Linked DNA regions of Homo sapiens: region 1 is linked to region 2. The links are contacts of gene promoters, found by promoter capture Hi-C in human tissues and cell types (Jung and others, 2019). All regions are on one chromosome and are shown on one strand. Each heading gives the region's core, a stretch centred on a gene start or on the middle of the fragment in contact. The rest is flanking DNA. Distances are from core to core; before and after follow the strand shown.

Evidence for each region. The method cuts DNA at HindIII sites, captures the fragments that hold promoters and counts their contacts. A contact is called where the count stands out against the background at its distance.
Region 1: a fragment that was not itself captured here is called in contact with the fragment with the promoter of MAGEB17 in region 2 in 2 of the 25 tissues and cell types used here (aorta and mesendoderm cells).

What each region holds. Positions count from the first base shown.
Region 1 is chrX:16,402,938-16,406,460 of GRCh38, forward strand. No RefSeq gene overlaps it. Among named protein-coding and RNA genes, the nearest start is that of MIR548AM, 220 kb to the right of the region's middle. The HindIII fragment of the contact is 9,450 bases long and covers 1-3,523 here.
Region 2 is chrX:16,165,480-16,168,982 of GRCh38, forward strand. MAGEB17 (MAGE family member B17) reads left to right here and starts at 2,002. Exons shown (of 2, transcript NM_001277307.2): 1 at 2,002-2,304. MAGEB17-AS1 (MAGEB17 antisense RNA 1) reads right to left here and starts at 3,200. Exons shown (of 5, transcript NR_187144.1): 1 at 1,728-3,200. RefSeq lists an enhancer at 2,737-3,503. The HindIII fragment of the contact is 9,214 bases long and covers 1-3,503 here.

The DNA.
Region 1 (3,523 bases), core at 915-3,414, 240 kb after region 2:
TTAAATTTCAATTTGGCTAATGAAAGGCAGTTTAAGGATTTCCTGATGAATAATGTATTAATATGTGGGATGCATAAAACTCAAATTACAAAGGTCAGCACAGATCAAATGCAAGACTTCTGAATTTCCAGGTGTGATGGCAGCTAGCTAGCACTGTGTGCTCCTCAGTTTCCATTATCACTGCAGAACACCCATGGATGCACAGGACATTTTATTTCACAGAAGTCCTGGAAGCTGAGCAAAGCAATCAATGACTTGCCTCCCACTAGTAGAAATTCTGTTGGCCGTAGGGGAGATGAGCTTGACATTAAATTGTCGTATTCACTTCCTAGTCCTTCGAAACAGGACAGAGCCAGAGAGGAAATAGGAAGGAGTGGAATGTAACTGACCCCCCAATATCCACCCCTACCTTGGAGAGAATAGGTCTGAGTCACACCTTTTCTGCAGGAAAACAACCCTCTGAGTCGCTTAGGATTATAGATACCAAGAATTTGGCTAAGACCTGTACCCATCAACTCACTCCCTCAAGTTACAATCTGAGGCAGAAATTATGACAAACCCCAATTGGTCCATGAACATAACCAGAGAGAGAGTAGTATTACCTCATCTTCTGCAAAACTCAGGTCAGGCTAGATCTCTTTCTTGCAAGGATGAACTCACAGGTGGGGAATAAAAGAATTTAACATGAAAAGATCAATAAAAATATTTTGCAACATTAAAACCTGATCACATAGCAGTTATTTTTCAAATGCTGATGTTCCAGGTACTCTGCTTAGCACTTCACATACTTACCTACCTTAATTTTCAGAGCCACCCCATGAGAGAGGCACTGAAGTCCCAGAAGGATAATTAAATCTTCAAAGTCACATGGCTGATTGGTGCCAAGGCTGGGACTCAAATAAAAATTGAAGGTCTGTGCTCCTAATCACGCCCCAGGCTCCTTCCCAGGGAACCAGGGACCTGTGCTTCTCAACTCTCAGGACACATACAAATCCCTGGTTGAAGTGGGGAGGGTGGCAGTGGGGGCAGGGGAGCATGTTATGTTAAAATGCAGATTCTGATTCAGTGAGTCTGGGGTGGAGTCTGAAAATGTACATTTCTAACAAGCCCCTGGGTGATGCTGATGCTGGTGGTGCTTAGACCACAGTTTGAGCAGCAAAGATCAAGAAAGTATGCAACTGTGGGGAAACAGGAAGAAGTTAGGTTCTCAAAAATATGGCAAAAACCTCAATTACGTTTGCACCATCCTTATATATAAGAAAATCTGAACTCTGTGAAGTAGGCAATGAAAGAAGAAATAAAAGCATGCAAGGCTGGCATGAAAATAGAAGGGTGAAGAAAGAGCTGGGACAAATTGCAAAGAATCCAAGGAAACTACAAAGAAAGAAGTATCCACTAGAGCCAACAAAAGAGCAGAATCTGCATTAGGAAACAAATAAAAAATGTATAAGGCAAACTTACACAGCACTCCAAAAATAATGAGGGGAAAGAACAAAAGGATGAAAATGGTAAAAAAAAAAAAAAAAAAAAAAAAAAGATTACAGCAACAGGAACAAAGATACAAGCTTCTAAAAACAGGCATTGTAGAGGGGGAAGCAGGAAAACTGGGGCAAACAGTAAACTTGACGATACAGTACAGGAAAACATTCCTGCACGGAAGATATTCAGACTTAACACTGAAAAAGTGAGGGTAATTTCCCATGGCAGATGCTGTTGGTGCCCTGCTTCGTTTCCCCTCCTGACACTTCAGACTCCACCTGCTGCTACGGTGGACTGTTCCCTGGGCTCCCTGACAGCTCCCTGCTTCAAGCACCCATATCCCTCTGCCTTCGAGAGAGCTTGTGCACCAAGAAGCTCAGATTTAACACCCTCAGATTAAATCAACCAAGGCGGAGCCAGATTCAGTGGATACACACCTCAGGTTCACCTTCACAGGCTGGGACAATTTTGAGGTGTGCTCTACATTGTCTCCCAATATCCCCAATAAGATTGAGCCCCAGTCATCTGCAGTTGTAATCCACACATTCACTCACCCTTTATTGGCTTTTCTCTCTTCCTTGCCCCAATTCCCACTCCCTAACTTGGGTATCCTGGGATCACCTCCCAATTAAATTATTGGCTCCCAAGTCTTTGTCTCAGGATCTGCTTTTCAGGAAACACAAGCTAAGACATGCCCCAAATATGTGAGAGGAAAATCCTTAACTATATTCAAAAGGAAAGAAATTCCACGTTTAATGATGTGTTATTTAATGGGTCAAGTGGCTCCCATGTTTTGAATTCTGGAGCTTACAGGCAGCACTAAAGTGGGCAACAGATGAGTCTTCCCAGACCTCACCCCTTTCACCACTTTCCCCTCCTTTGGGCTCCACTATACATGGTGTATAACATCCAGAATGTCTTAGAGTATGATTCCTATCCTTTGTCTCCCCCTCTTACCTGTCAACACCTCATATACAGAAACTGCAATTTAATGGCTTTATATCCCAAGCATATAGCACAGTATCTTACACATAGAAGGCTCTTGATAACTTGCTAAATAAATGTTGGGTCAATAACTGGGTCCTAGGACTGGCTCTGCCACTGACTAGCTGTGTGACCTTGGAAAAATCACTTAAAGGCTTAACTGGGCCTCAGTTACCTCCATTTATAATATGAGATAACTTGACTCTGTGTTCTCTGAGGTCAAGTTATTATATGAATCTAGATAAGTAAAATTTCTCCCCACTCTCTGATTTCTTTTTTTTTATTTTTGTGGGTACATAGTAGGTGTATATATTGATAGGACACATGAGATGTTTTGATACAGGCATGCAATGTGTAATAATCACGTCATGGAGAATGGGGTATCCATCCGCTCAAACATTTGCCCTTTGTATTACAAATAATCCAATATGCTCCTTTAGTTATTTTAAAATGTACAATTAAGTGATTATTAACTATAGTCACCCTGTTGTGCCACCAAATAGTAGGTCTTATTCATTTTATCTAACTTTTTTTTGGTACCCATTAACCTGCCCCACGTACCCCCCATCTCTGATCTCTTGAGCCTGGTTAATGCAGTATAAAGCTGGCCATACTATAAGGGAGACAGTCAAATCTTTGTGGATCACACTAAGCTGTAACTACGGTATTTTCTAAAATCCTAGCACTTAACAGCTTCTTTTTGTGCCTAAGTAAAATTCTACTGGTGACTATGATGTACCCTTATTGTCCAAGGCATTGTCTATGCCTGTGTTGTCCATTATGGTGGACACTAGTCCCATGTGGCTATTAGGCCCTTGAAATGTGCCTAGTCCCAAATGAGATGTGAGGTAAGTGTAAAAGACACACTGAATTCTGAAAAATGTAATACCAACAAAATGTGAAATATCTCAGCTGTGTTGTATGGATTACATGTTAAAGTGCTCACATGTTGGATATATTGGGCTAAATGAAATACATTACTAAAATTAATTTTACTTATTTCTTTTTACTTTTTAAATGTGGCTATGAGAGCAATTAGTATGAAGAAAATTTAGTGACT
Region 2 (3,503 bases), core at 752-3,251:
AACTAACACTGACTTAATTCACCATTATTAAAAATGATGCCCACTCCAGACAAGAAGTAAAGGAACCATGACTCTCTGGCCTGTAGTCAAAGGCAGGGGAACGTTCTGAGAGTTCTTTAACATACATCACTGTGAGTGGTCAAACTTGTCATAGGGGCTCATATTAACTAGGAAGCATGAAACATGCTGGTGAATGCCATGGTAAGAAAAAAATAAACTTTCTTGCTAACCATCTGCAAGTATTGCTTTTTTTTTTTTCTTGAGATGGAGTCTCACTCTATCGCCCATGCTGGAGTGCAGTGGCGCAATCTCGGCTCACTGCAACCTCCACCTCCCGGGTTCAAGCAATTCTCCTGCCTCAACCTCCCAAGAAGCTGGGATTACAGGCACCTGCCACCACACCCAGCTAATTATTGTATTTTTTCAGTAGCAACAGGGGTTCGCCATGTTGGCCAGGCTGGTCTCGAACTCCTGACCTCAGGTGATCCACCCGCCTCAGCCTCCCAAAGTGTTGGGATTACAGGGGTGAGACACCATGCCCGGCGAGTATTGTTTATTTAGAATAAAACTATTCCCATACTGTCACACTCATCTCAGCCTGAGACAGACCTTGTGTATCTTAATTCACTTTTCTTCTCCCTACTCCAAATTGTATATCAAGTAATAAGAAGAAAAATACCGTGTACAAACTACTGGTTTGGAATACATAGCCAGAGCAATAAGAATACAAAAATAAATGAGAGCTATGAATAAGGAAAAGAAAGAGACAATACTCAGTGACCACATGATCATCTACATATGTGATGTCAGATCACCTGAAAAGATTGGGGACTCACAGAATCATGTGGCCCTACCCTTCCTTGGAGAAAGCCAATCTATTAGAACCAAAGTTACAGCAGAGGCAAAGTCTGGCTGGTAAAGAAATGGAATAGACCAACTGGCTTTATTTTGACCACCCACCACTTGTCCTGGGCCCCCTGCCTTGAGCTACAACTTCCTGATCTCTCATCACTTCAGGGCAAGGAGCCATTCTCTGCAAAGTTTGCGGAAGAAAAACTGTTAAAGAGATTGCAGGGATTTGGCATTTCCCAGGAAGCCTTGAATTAATGAGACAGGAACCAAGATGTGAAGCCCCATGTAGGAGGACTGAGGATACCGTCATCCCAGAATATTGGAGGTCCAACAGAGACCAGCCTGTGGCTGCTCTCAGACTTAGAGGGCCACAGGCAGGGCTGAGGCTGAGCATCTCCACAATTATCCTTCAAGGTTCTCAGGAGCATGAGAGATTTCAGGAAGACAAACTCAGGTCAGTAGAGGAAGGACTGTGAGCTTCTGATAGATACCAAGGTGATGACCCTGAATTAAGAATAAAGGAAGGAACAAGCCAGAACAGTGGGGTCCCATAGAGTCCTGCCCTGGCTGACAGCCCTTGTCGTTCTGGAATAGTCATTGGTAGATTTGGCTCATCCTGATTACAACTCTGTAGTCCCAGGAAGGTGAAGACCTTGATCAGAGGGGAGCAGCCTCAAGTCCCATGAGGATCGAGTTCCAGGACTAGTCAGTCAGGTGTCAAGGTGAGGAATTTCAGGGAGCAATTAGAAAACCACACATCCATACTAGAACAGAGGAAGACACAAAAACTCTTACCTCCACCAACCCACATCTCCCCTTCCCTGCACCGCCGCTGCCACACCATCCCATCCCCACTCCTGTCACACCATCCTTACCTCTCCTGTGACTTGGGAAGCTCAGGAAGAGCTGTCAGGTTGAGGTGACTGTCATTTCGGCCTGGAGGGTCTCAGGGAAGGGAGAATCTTGGTCTGGTGGGGGAAGCCCCAGCTGTGCATAGTGGAGCCCCAGAAACTGACTCGAATCAAGGTGAGGACCGAGAGTGACATAAGGGAATGGTTATCAGCAAAAAATAAAAACAAAAATAAAAAAATGCTTAATCTTGTCAGCCATAGCAAAGACCTCAGCTGAGGACCCCTTTTTTTCTGCTTAGATGCTCTAACGAGGGTAGTGACTCTGTCTAAAGGCAAAAGCACAGTTCAGCTGAGGGAGGAGAACTGGACACTCATTGGAGTCCCGGAGAGGACACTGAGTACACTGGAGAGGACTTCTATGCAAAAAGGGGGCCCGAGCAGAGCCCCGCCCCGCTTTCAGCCCTGGGAGACCCAGCAGGGACTTGATTGGATGTGGCTCACTCCGACATCCGCCCGCCTGGGAAGCTGCCGGAAGTGAGGATCTTCGTCTGAGGGACGCCACCTCAGGCTACCAGAACCCCAAGACTGGTTGGGTATCAAGGTAAGGACCCTGATCGTGGACTGAAAGGCCCACCACACGCAGCCAAGGCGACCACCCTGTGTCCCCCAACCCCCGCCCCCGGGTACCCACCTCCCTCAGCCGCGGGAGGCTCCAGTCAGGCTGTGGCACTGACTTCTGAGAGGGCACCAGGGAGGGGAGGGTTTGGTGTGAGGGTGAGGCTTCGATTCTGCAGAGGGATGGACTCCTAGGCCCTAATCGAAATGAGGTCCCTGATGCTGATGAGGAGACCTCTCCCAAACATGGGAGGCCCACGAGGCGGGCATGGTAGCTCACACCTGTGATCCCAGTGCTTTGGGAGGCTGAGGCGGGAGGATTACCCGAGCCCAGCAGTTCCAGACCAGTCTGAGTAACAAAGCGAGACCCTCTCTCTCCAAGAAAGAAAAGAACAAAAACTAGCGGGACATGGTGGCCGGCGCCTGTGGCCCCAGCGACTCGGGAGGCTGAGGCAGGAGGATCGCTTGAGCCCAGCAGGTCGAAGCTGCAGTGAGCCATGGTCACGCCATGAGCGTGGCGACAGAGTGAGACCCCGTGTCTGTCACAAAGAAAAAAAAAAAAAAGGAAAAAGCAAGAGAGCCAGGGAGAGCCAGAGAGCCAGGTTTCTGCTGCCCTGTTGTCAGCTCTGGGAGACCCCGTGCAGGCATAGCCAGACGGGGCATGCCGTGACTTTTCCCTCTAGCAACTTTGGGACGTGAGAGCTTGGGCCTGGGCCTGGCTGACTCAGGTCAGTGGAGCGACCTGAGTCGCGTCCCAAAGAGTTGGAGGTCCCACCCTGAGCCAGGTTCAGAACCCTGAGGCAGAGCAGTGGGGTCCCCTATAGTCCCACCCCTGCTGTCACGCCTTGAAGGCCCTAAACAGCCTTGAGAGGATGTGGCTTACCCTGAATGTCCAAATCTGAGGTCCCATTGAAGCAAGGATCTTGCTTTGAAGGGTGTTGCCTGTAGTGAGCTGAGGATGGAGTCCCAGGACTGGTCAAGTAGCAAGGTGAAGATCCTGAGCCCTCAGTAGACAGGGCTGCACGGAGCGTTTCAGCAGAGGGCTTTGGTTGCAAGACTGGCTGCCCCAGGTCAGCGGAGAAAGGAGTCCCAGGCTCTGTGGGGAGTGAAGGTAAAAAAAACCCTGCGTGAGGAGGGAGGAAAATGGCCATTCCAAAACACAGGAGACCACATAGAGTCTCAGCT